4 separate regions of the Homo sapiens genome follow, and regions 1, 2 and 4 are each linked to region 3. Evidence: promoter capture Hi-C in human tissues and cell types (Jung and others, 2019). All regions are on one chromosome and are shown on one strand. Each heading gives the region's core, a stretch centred on a gene start or on the middle of the fragment in contact. The rest is flanking DNA. Distances are from core to core; before and after follow the strand shown.

The links. The method cuts DNA at HindIII sites, captures the fragments that hold promoters and counts their contacts. A contact is called where the count stands out against the background at its distance.
Region 1: a fragment that was not itself captured here is called in contact with the fragment with the promoter of EML6 in region 3 in 2 of the 25 tissues and cell types used here (dorsolateral prefrontal cortex and hippocampus).
Region 2: a contact is called between a fragment that was not itself captured here and the fragment with the promoter of EML6 in region 3, in 1 of the 25 tissues and cell types used here (dorsolateral prefrontal cortex).
Region 4: a contact is called between a fragment that was not itself captured here and the fragment with the promoter of EML6 in region 3, in 2 of the 25 tissues and cell types used here (dorsolateral prefrontal cortex and hippocampus).

What each region holds. Positions count from the first base shown.
Region 1 is chr2:55,235,130-55,237,829 of GRCh38, reverse strand. It overlaps RPS27A (ribosomal protein S27a), which reads right to left. Exons shown (of 6, transcript NM_002954.6): 6 at 1,977-2,402. The coding sequence ends at 2,253. It overlaps MTIF2 (mitochondrial translational initiation factor 2), which reads left to right. Exons shown (of 16, transcript NM_002453.3): 15 at 402-542; 16 at 1,010-1,235. The coding sequence ends at 1,182. Among named protein-coding and RNA genes, the nearest start is that of RPS27A, 3.8 kb to the right of the region's middle. The HindIII fragment of the contact is 5,067 bases long and covers 1-2,700 here.
Region 2 is chr2:54,180,010-54,182,709 of GRCh38, reverse strand. All of the region lies in intron 3 of ACYP2 (acylphosphatase 2), which reads right to left. Among named protein-coding and RNA genes, the nearest start is that of ACYP2, 66 kb to the right of the region's middle. The HindIII fragment of the contact is 6,996 bases long and covers 1-2,700 here.
Region 3 is chr2:54,722,391-54,725,090 of GRCh38, reverse strand. It overlaps EML6 (EMAP like 6), which reads right to left and starts at 1,429. Exons shown (of 42, transcript NM_001039753.4): 1 at 1,314-1,429; 2 at 1-542. The coding sequence starts at 29. RefSeq lists silencers at 226-375, 1,047-1,536 and an enhancer at 1,677-1,896. The HindIII fragment of the contact is 12,546 bases long and covers 1-2,700 here.
Region 4 is chr2:54,203,953-54,206,652 of GRCh38, reverse strand. All of the region lies in intron 3 of ACYP2 (acylphosphatase 2), which reads right to left. Among named protein-coding and RNA genes, the nearest start is that of TSPYL6, 51 kb to the left of the region's middle. The HindIII fragment of the contact is 3,733 bases long and covers 1-2,700 here.

The DNA of each region.
Region 1 (2,700 bases), core at 148-2,647, 510 kb before region 3:
ACAATATAAAAATCAGCTGGATGTGGTTGTGGGCGCCTGTAATCCCAGCTACTCGGGAGGCTGAGGCATGAGAATCGCTTAAACCCCGGAGGTGGAGGTTGCAGTGAGCCAAGATCACACCACTGCACTCCAGCCTGGATGACAGAGTGAGACTCTGTCTCAAAAAAAAAAAAAAAAAAAGAAAAAAAGAAAAGGAAAAGAATAGCCAAAGATTTTCATTCATTTTTATTCTTAATATTGGTCAGGAAAATAAAATTGGAGTTAAAGAAACCCAGACTTTTTTCTAGGCATGAATTTGGATTTTTGTCATACCTTTAATTCTTATACCACAGAATGTCAGAAATTACGTATTTATCAGAATCTTTAGTTTTCTGCACATTAATGTTCTCTTCTTCCTAAAGGTGAGGCATCTATACTAGCTACCTTCTCTGTAACAGAAGGGAAGAAAAAAGTTCCTGTGGCTGGCTGCAGAGTCCAAAAGGGACAGTTAGAAAAACAAAAAAAATTTAAACTAACCCGTAATGGACATGTAATTTGGAAGGGTAAGCAACATCAAAATCTCCTATAATAGCATATCCAGTCACCAAGACCTGTTGACTATATAACCATCTGAAATCTGTTCATCTTTCATGCCCATAATCTCAGCTCAGGCCATTTCTTATTGCTATTGAAACCCCTAAATTGTCTGTAGTTGATGGGTTCCCTTTGCCTGAGATGTATGTTGGTTTTACCCATTCAAGTCCTGAGTACCATCCTGTCCTCAGCAAAAAGTTTATGTCTACCTTTGAAATAGGAGATTTAGGTTATTTTGTTACAAATCAAGTCTTATTCACAGCAAACTTCATTTTTGAGGGGGTTCCCCTGGTATTTAGTCCCATCATTTAACTTGACAAGACCATAAAATTTTTAAGAATTTCAGTGTAATTTCCTGGTTAACACCACATAATGTAGTATTTAGTAGGTACTTATCATTTATTGAATATACTAACCTTAAATTATCTTTTTTAAGGCTCATTAACCTCATTGAAACACCATAAAGATGACATTTCAATTGTCAAAACGGGAATGGATTGTGGTCTCAGTTTAGATGAAGACAATATGGAATTTCAAGTGGGAGACAGAATTGTTTGTTATGAAGAAAAGCAAATTCAAGCCAAGACTTCTTGGGATCCAGGATTTTAAAATTACATTAAAAATGTAAATAACTCAACGTGTTGTTTGTTTGAAGGTAGAAATGCACTACTACTGGCCAAAAAGTATCTAAGTTGTTTTACCATGTGTTCATATGCATTTGCACAAACTGTCAAAGTGCTCAGAAATAGGAAACCTTATTTAAGGATGCCTCCAACTAGAAATCCTTGAATGGAAAGACTGGCAATATGGTAAAAGTGAATTGTTATTTATACATCACCGATTTCTTTCAAGTGTATGCTTTAGTTAAGAGGCTTATCAAGTGAACCAGCTTTCCCTGAATTGAGCTCCGAAGGAAGATAGGCTACCCCAGTCCTGCTTGAAACTAAACTGTCTTTTACTGTTAACAGTACAAATAAGTAATCATTCCTTTATAGGGATCCATCCTGAACAAACATTAAATTCCCAAGCGTTGTACAACAGACAGCAAGCATTCCACTGAAACACCCAGAGACTGAGGATGCATTTTGTTTTTTTTGGAAGCAGGGTTTTGTCCAGGCTGAAATGCAATGCATAATTAATTACAACTCCTGGGCTCAAGGGATCCTTTTGTCTCAGACTTCCCAGTAGGCAGGACCATAGGAGTCAGCCTACTTTTTTTTTTTTTTTTTTTTTTTTTACAGAGATGGGGGTCTTGCTATGGTGCCCAGGCTGCTCTTGAACTCCTGGACACTCAAGTGATCCTCCCAAAGCATAGGGATTACAGGCACCCCACAACAAAGAATTACCTGGCCCCAAATGTCTGTTGTGTTGAGGTCAAGAAATGGACAGAAACACAAACTGGCTTATATTTAGACAACTTACATTAAATATAACTTCTGCCAAAGTATAGGTAGTCTAAGAATTGAAAATATCAAGACCTTTACAAGTGGTTGGCACCTGGCAGGTATACAGAACCACTGGGTCACATAATCCCCAGAGGCAACATTCACACAGCGATAGCAGTAGCACTACTAAAAGGAAATGGTGTGACCATCAATTTGGTGCTTAAAAACCATTCTTTTTACTGCAATAAAACCCAACAATAAATGTTAGTTCATGTCTTTTATTAACTCATACAGTTACTTGTCTTCTGGTTTGTTGAAACAGTAAGTCAGACAACATTTGCCACAATAATGTCTGTCAAAGTGACTTGCCATAAACACCCCAGCACCACATTCATCAGAAGGGCACTCTCGACGAAGGCGACTAATTTTGCCATTCTCATCCACCTGAAAAGCACAAACCTGCTGTTAAGATAATTTTACAACACATTCTGAAGTCTAATTTAAGTGACTCAAAATATTTAAGCTTTTAACTGTGTAATACTGGTGGTTTTGGTGCTTACAAACCAAAGCACCCTAAATTCTCACCAGTTATCATTGCTACAATGAAAACATTCAGAAGTCTTGGGACTTTTGAACACTAAAGGCCAGCTTTGCAAGTGGTAGACAAAGGTAAAGACCTGAACCCAAACCCGACTTTAAACTCAGAACCCTATTACATAACTGATTTCAAATACCAAACAGG
Region 2 (2,700 bases), core at 130-2,629, 540 kb after region 3:
TCTGCTTTACCCCTCCAGGCCCAAGAGACAAGGCTGTCCAGACACCAAACGGTGGTCACAGATTTTATCTTCTACCAGGAATGGTCACTCACACCTGTAATTCCAGGACTTTGGGAGGCCAAGGCAGGAGGACTGCTTGAGCCCAGGAGTTCAAGACCAGCCTGGGCAACAGACTCTACCTCTACAAAAAAAATAGAAAAAATAGCTGGGCGTGGTGACGCATGCCTGTAGTCCCAGCTAGCCAGAAGGCTAAGGTGAGAGAAGTGCTTGAGCCTGGAAGGTCAAGGCTTCAGTGAACCATGATTGTGCAACCGTATTCCCGCCCGGGCAACAGAGTGAGACTCTGTCAACAACAACAACAAAATTTATCTTCCCTGTAATCCCAGCACTTTGGGAGGCTGAGGCGGGTGGATCATGAGGGCAGGAGTTTGAGACCAGCCTGGCCAACATGACGAAACTCTGTCTCTACTAAAAATACAAAAATTAGACTGACGTGGTGGCGGGCGCCTGTAATCCCAGCTACTCGGGAGGCTGAGGCAGGAGAATCACTTGAAACCCGAAGGCTGAGGTTACAGTGAGCTGAGATTGTGCCACCATACTCCAGCCTGGGTGAAAAAGCAAAACTCCGTCTCAACCAAAAAAAAAAAAAAAAAAAAAAAAAATTATCTTCTATTTTTCTGTTTTCTTTGTTATTTTTAGTGGCAGAATGGTAGACGTTTGTACTGACACATAAATAAGTATATAGGGTTTTGTAAGAGAGGGTCCATCAGATTTTAAGATTTATGGCCTATGTTTTATGAACCTTTTTAAATGTTTATTTTATTTTACAACAAAAAAAAGTTTAACATAAAATGTGCATAGCAGTGGGGTAAAAATTCATTACTACTAGTCAGGAGAACCAGTGGACAGAAATGGCTTTGTGAGTCTCAGCCAAATAAGAACAATAATTAAACCCTGACCAGGCAGGGATACTGTTTATTCTATTCACCATCAGGTCACCAGAGACTGGCACATAGTAAGTGCTTAATAAATATTTGATGAATTAAATTGATTTGAAGATGTATAGAACAGTTTCTTAAAATTATATCATTGGAAATGGGTATTACAGAATTCAGATTATATGTAATTTTAGGAAAGTTAACAGGAAATTAATATTTATGTGGGGCCTGGCAGAAAGTCATGCTTACAATGCCAGGAGTTTTCTCTGGTTTAATTCTGCTACTACTATAAGTAGTAGGGATTATTATCATTATGTTCTTGTTATATTTTCAGCCTGTCATGGTGTTCAGCAAGGTTAAGAAACTTATACAAGGTGATAAAGCTGGACTTCAGTTCTAGTTTTCTCTCACTCCATTCAAACACACTACCTTCCATAACACATAAAATGAGGTTTGTATTATCCCTGACCATCCAGTCTAAAGTGTCCTGCCCCACTTACTGTCTTTCATCATCCTGTTTATTTCCTTCTAGGACTTGTCACAATTCACAATAATCTTGTTTATTTGTTAGTTATCCGACTCCCTTGAGAAATGTTAATGGTATGAGAGTGGGTAATTTTTCTAGATGTTCACAGCCATATCCTAGTGTTTTGAACATAGTAGTTTCTTGATAAATATGTTTTGAATACAATGAATGAACACACTGAAGTGCTTTTTGTAATACTAAAACAAGGTTAACCTAAGTAAAGAGATCTGCTATGGTCTGAATGTTTATGTCCCTCTAAAATTCCTATCTTGAAATCCAATGCCCAATGTGAGAGTATCTGGAGGTGGGTCCTTTAAAAGGTGATTAGGTTGTGAGGGCTGAGCCTTCATGAATGGGATGAATGTCTGTGATATTAACAAATATATATTTGGGCTGGGCGCAGTGGTTCACGCCTGAAATCTCAGAATTTTCGGAGGCTGAGGCAGGCGACTGCTTGAGCTCAGGAGTTCGAGACAGACCTGGGCAACATGGCAAAATCCCATCTCTACAAAAAAATACAAAAATTAGCCTGGCATGGTGGTGTGTGCCTGTGGTCCCAGCTACTCAGGAGGCTGAGGTGGGAGGATTGTTTGAGCCCAGGAGGTTGAAACTGCAGTGAGCCATGATCATGCCACCACACTTTAGCCTGGGCGACACAGCAAGACTCTGTCTCAAAAAGAAAGAAAACCAACAAATATATATTTGGTCTTTGATCACAGATTTCTGGCATAGAACTCCTAAAATCCTCAGAATCTCCGAAGTGATGTCTTTTCATATGCTAATGATTGACTGATGCCTGGCAACCCCCAGGTGGTAGCTTCAGGATGGAGGCTGGTCACTGGAAAGACCAAGGCATGATAACAGGTTTAAGATATTCAGCCCCACCCGCTAACCTCCAGGGAAAGGAGGGGGGCTAAAGGTTAAGCTGATCTCCAATGGCCAATGATTAATCAATCATGGCTACTGAATGAAGCCTCCATTAAAAAAAATTAAAAATAAAAATAGAAATAAATAAACAGGGTTTGGAGAACTTCCAGATAGCTAAGCACCTGGAGACTTCTGGAGGGTGGTACGCCCAGGACAGCATGGAAGCTGCATGCACTATGCATCTCTAAATCTGCATCCTTGGTAATATCCTTTATAATAAACTGGTAAATGTAAGTTTCCAAGTTCTATGAGCTACCCTAGAAAATTAATTGAATTCAAGGAGGGGTCATGGGAACCCCCACTTGAAGC
Region 3 (2,700 bases), core at 180-2,679:
TGGCAGCGGGGCGCCGTCCGATCCGCCATGATAAGCCGACCCCGCGCGCCCCCCGCCCCCCCGCGCGCCGGGGCCGTCCTCGCCGAGGCTGGGGCTGCGGCGGACCTGCAGGGGCTCAGCGCGCGGCGCAGGGCGCTGATTTCCGCGGCGACACACAGGCACAGCCCAGCGGGCCGGCCGCCACCATCATCCGCTGCAGCCGCCGCAGACAAGCCGCCGCCGCCGGTGTGCGGCCGCCAGACCCCGCCGGGCGCCGGGCTCCCTCTACCCGGGCAAGGCGGCTCTGGGGGCGCCGGCACCGGCGCGCGCGCCTCACTGCACCTGCGGGCTCCGGCCCCCGGGAGAGGCTCTCGGGGGGGCCACCCCGCCTTTTACATCAGGAATCTGCATATCCCAACAGCGATCACCCAGTTCGCTCACTGAAGTTTGCGGTGCGCCGGGGCTTCGCGGCAGGCGGCGGGATTTATTCTGCGATAGCCTTGATTTGACAGGCAACCCGGGTGAGCTCTGCCATCGCCGTCTTTGGATCCGAAATTGACAGTCTATATCCAGGAAGCGAGAGCGAGGAAGAAAGAAACAGATTTTTCGCATAAGTCACCCAATCCAAGAAAATTATCCCCAAACTAAACCAAGTTGGGTATTTTTAAAAATTGTCCCCTACTCCCGCTTTCTCTCTCCAGTTCCATCTCCTTAATGATATGAAATATGCGTAAATGCTGCTGCCTGGCAGTTGCTGATGCGATTTGAAGGAACGCTTGCTGTTTCCCTAATAAGCGAGGGCGAATATGCAATGGTCATTTTTTAGATGCTCCAATTAGTTTTCATGTGTGTGTTTAATAATCATATCCTCCGTGAACCTTCTCTTCACCGAGAAAGCCATAAAGAACTTAGCAGCTCTCATTGATCAGCAACTCCAATCCGCATCATGAAAGATTGTCTTACTCGGAAGAAACGAGGCACTAGTGCAGTCGGAGGGAGTGCGCTACCTACAAACGCTCCTGGTCGAGGAGAAATCAAATAACAAGTGGCAAAAATCGTGTACTTCTCCCCAGAAACCTCTGCGCTAAACACCGGGTCCCACGGAATCCCGGGTCCTGCCCTGAGCCCAGCGTGGAGAGGGGTCGCCCGAGGGACCCGGGGGACAGCAACCCCCCACAGACGCACACGTCCCGGGGGTCGGCGCGCTGCGCGAGGGATGCCCGCCCTCAGGACTGTTCGGCCCGCGCGCACTGCCGCCCTGGCGGCGCCCTGCACTCCTCCCACTCTCGAACCAGCCTCGCCCGCGGAGCATCCGCGCGCTCTCTGCCTCTAACCTCTGCTGCCAGCGGACGCCACCGGCGCGTCCCGGATCCCGCGCGGGCGAGCGAGCGAAATCCTCTGCCTGCCCTCCCCTCCCCGCCTCCCGCACCCGGGGATGGACTTCGTCACTGGGGCGCCGCGGGAGACAGGTTCTTCCTCCAGCCGGGGCTCCGGGGGCGGGGCCACAACGCCGCGCTAGTGAACCTCAGCTGCCGGTTACTAGGCGAGATCTCGCCGCTTGGAAACAGCGACGCCCCGGAGGACTGGGGCCGCCCCCTCCCTCTGCCTGTCCCTGTGGCCTCTTCCCCCGACGCATCCTGGGAAGTGTAGTCCTCTCTGCGCCGGTTAGGGCGGACAGCGCGCGGAAGGGACCACAAGTCCCAGGATTCCGCGCGCCCAGAGGGAGTCGCAGCGAGACCTGTACCGGCGTCAGCGGAGCCTGCGGCTCTCGGGGTGAGGAGATCCCGGCTCACCAAGGACGATTGCCTGCCCACGCGGGCGTTCCCTTGTGACTGAGGCGGGAGCTGGCGTGCGTGGGTCTCTGTAGAGAAAAGCGGTGGAGTTGGAATGGAGACGGTCTCCCAGCCCACCACTGGAATTTCTCCTTCATCGGTCTCTGAGTGTTGCTGTAACCGACATCCTCACCATGCTGTAACTGACTCAAGCTTAAGTTTGTTTCCTACTTAAGTTTTCCTTTTCATTCACATGGATTTTAATTTGTTAAAGTGCAGTTCTGCCAAGTTTAAGAAAAATGCTGGGAATGTGAGCTCACTTCTGCCCTAAGAACCAGCGTCTTCCCATGACCTGCGTCCTAAATTAGAGGACTTGGGTATTTACAGATAACCGGAGGTTGGAAGCAGGAAGGTGCTCACGCCATGAACAGCTAACCTTGGCCTTCAAACGCAGAAGCTGGTGGCATTTCTCCTAAAACTGCCCGAGATGAACTATGAATCCACTGTGTTCTCAAGTAGCCTATTTCCAATTTAGGGCCATAGCTAGTCTTTGGAAAGAGATTTCAAAATCCCAGTGACTAAGAGGCTGCAAAAGGATGATGGATTGGACGTTTGGAACGTCCTTTCCCTCCCATGCTTTCAGTGTAATCGCTTACTCAGTTCATCTCCCTCAAGTTTTAAGACAACCCTCCGACCTGGTAGGAAAGCTCGAAAGAACTGGAAGTGCCAGAGTTTGGATGATTTGTTGCTGCCCGCAGTAATGAGGATTTGAATTGGTCTCATCTTTGTTTTTAAGGAAACAGAATCAACAAATAAGTGAGATGGCACTGTGCTAGGCAACAAGAACACTGCCAAAAACAAAAACACGGCCTGAGAAAGGTTTGAGATAGAAGCAAAAATATAGTTGATCAATGATGTCGTGCCATAAAACAGTGCCAAATGAATTATA
Region 4 (2,700 bases), core at 175-2,674, 520 kb after region 3:
TTGAGCTAAAGTGAAATGGAGAGTTTACAAAATACTAATAGGCACCTGGCATAAATAAAGGATATCATCATCGAGGACATTATCTTATTTTCAAAGTGCCTTTTAGTACATTCATTCTGAATCAAACACAATAGAGATATCGTTTCTAATTAGACCTTTAGCAAAGTGACAGGCAACCTAATTAAACAAGAACATATGATAACATAATCTGAATAAAAGCATTTTAGAATCACAGGACTTGAAAATAAATTTTAAGTGGATAGGAGAATAATTCAAAGTAGTTTTCCAAGCACGACCAGCAATGGTGGTAAATAACAGATCTAAATTACAATTCATGGTATCTGCCTCTAATGCACAATGTCATTCATTATGAATATTTAAGAAAATTATTTGCAAACAAATAAATTACAACGATATACTGAGCCCAAGGCCCCAAACTTAAAATCCAAATGTCTTCAAGGACAGGGGAATTAACAAAAATATGGAAAGTTTCAGGTATAAGAGGGTGAGGAGGCAGTGTGCATGCCCCATCAAAAAGCAAGCTTACATTAAAATAATGCAGTAACTTTATTCCTTCTCAAAAGAATGCATCAGTACTAGGCAGAATCAGTACTAGGCAGAATGATCCTTGGACTAGGCAATAGAAGTAAATTAGAATGATAAATATAGGAATTATTAAAGAGAACATGGCCATAAATATCCAGGAAATATATACACTCAAAAAAGGAATTTATGTTTGATAAGTACATTATTCATAATTATTGATACAAATTAACCCTAAACCAAAGCTTGTATCACATTAAAAGTGCAAAATTAGCTGCAGATGAATATCCTGACCCAATTATGCAAACACTCTGGTAAATCTGTGTAGACTAAAGGCTCTGAGAAGAAAGTTGAACTTCAGAGGGGTAGAGGGGAGGAGTATTTCAGAAAAGGGATTTATAAAGGAATGAAAATATTTGGAAGACATTGGTAAAAAGGAGATACTTGGGAAGGTAAATCTAAGTCACTATAGAAAGAATTTTGAAGAGATGGGTCTTTACCATCTAGGCCCTTTGTGGAAGAGCTGAAAATACCTCACAGCAACAGGATGTGACTGCTGCCTCATCTGGGAAGACAGATCAACTCAAGCCATCTCAAAGAGGTGAAGGGTAGATGTATAATAGGAGTAGGCGGGGAGAGGAGAATGTATACTGATGTCATAAGAGGATATGCAAAGGTTTTGTGAGAAACCAAGGACAAGAACAGAAAACAGTAGGTCACCCTCTAAGAAACCAAGCCTTCTCTTCCTTGCAGATGGTCTATCTGCTTCTCTCCGGGCATCATCTCAGATGCTGACTGCTTTTTCTGGTGGTTCCCTCTCTAGGCCCAGATGCTGTCTCAGAATTTTTTAGACCAGCTCCCATGGGTTACTGGCAATATCCACCATGGCCTCACAGACTTTACCCACCATGCCTATGCAGGTGCTTGAGAATACATACTCCCTGACCTAACAAAGCAAAGAAACTTTGTAGACATTTAAGGGACTTAGCAATTCAAAGGAGGGAAACCAGAATGGAGAGATAGGCAACTTTTACAAAAGCCAAATTAATGGAAGAAACAATAAAAATGTAATAAGAATGTTTAAGGGGATACACAAGGAGAATAACTACGAAAACTCAAGGAGAAGGTGCCTATGAGAAACATGAACTCTGGGGCTTAAGTTCCAAAAGGATGTAAAATGAATGGCTGGTATTAAAAACCAAACTAGTAAACTGGAATATGAAGCAAAGGAACTATCACATCACAAAGCAGAAATAATGAAATGTCAATCAGTGGTGAAAATATAACAGGCATACAGGACAGATTCAGGAGGCCTAATAAGCAAATAGCATTTCCAGCAAGAGAGAAAAGAGCAGAAGCAATAATCAAATAGGAAAACCCTGAAGTGAAGAAAGAATTGAGTTTTTTAGATCAAAGGAGCTCACCGAATGCCAGGCAGTTATAAGGGAAATAAAAGACACATTCTTCACATTTTTATGGTGAAGTTTTAAACTCCAACTAGAAAGAACAAGTCTTTTAGGCTTCAAGACAGCAAGAACAGGATATTTACTTATAAAAGCAAAATAATGACAACTGGCATCGGACCTTTCATATGCCACACTGGAACCTAGAATAAGTATATAAACTTTTAAGAAAAAAGGACTGCATTCCAAGAATCTTGTGTCCAGGCAAGATATAATCCAGGGGTGTCCAATCTTTTGGCTTCCCTGGGCCACACTGGAAGAAGAAAAATTGCGTTGGGCCACACATAAAATACACTAATATTACTGACAGCTGATGAGCTGAAAAAAAAAATCATAAAAAAAAAAAAATCCCATGGCCGGGCGCAGTGGCTCATGCCAGTAATCCCAGCACTTTGGCCGAGGTGGGCGGAACATGAGGTCAGGAGTTCGAGACCAGCCTGGCCAATATGGTGAAATTCCGTCTCTACTAAAAATACAAAAAAAATTTAGCTGGGCATGGTGGCACATGCCTGTAGTCCCAGCTACTCAGGAGGCTGAGACAGGTGAATCACTTCAACGTGGGAGGCAGAGGTCGCAGTGAGCCGAGATCGTGCCACTGCACTCCAGCCGGGGTGACAGAGCGAGACTCCGTCTTAAAAACAACAATAACAACAACAACAACAAAAACCTCATAATGTTTTAAGACAGTTTATGA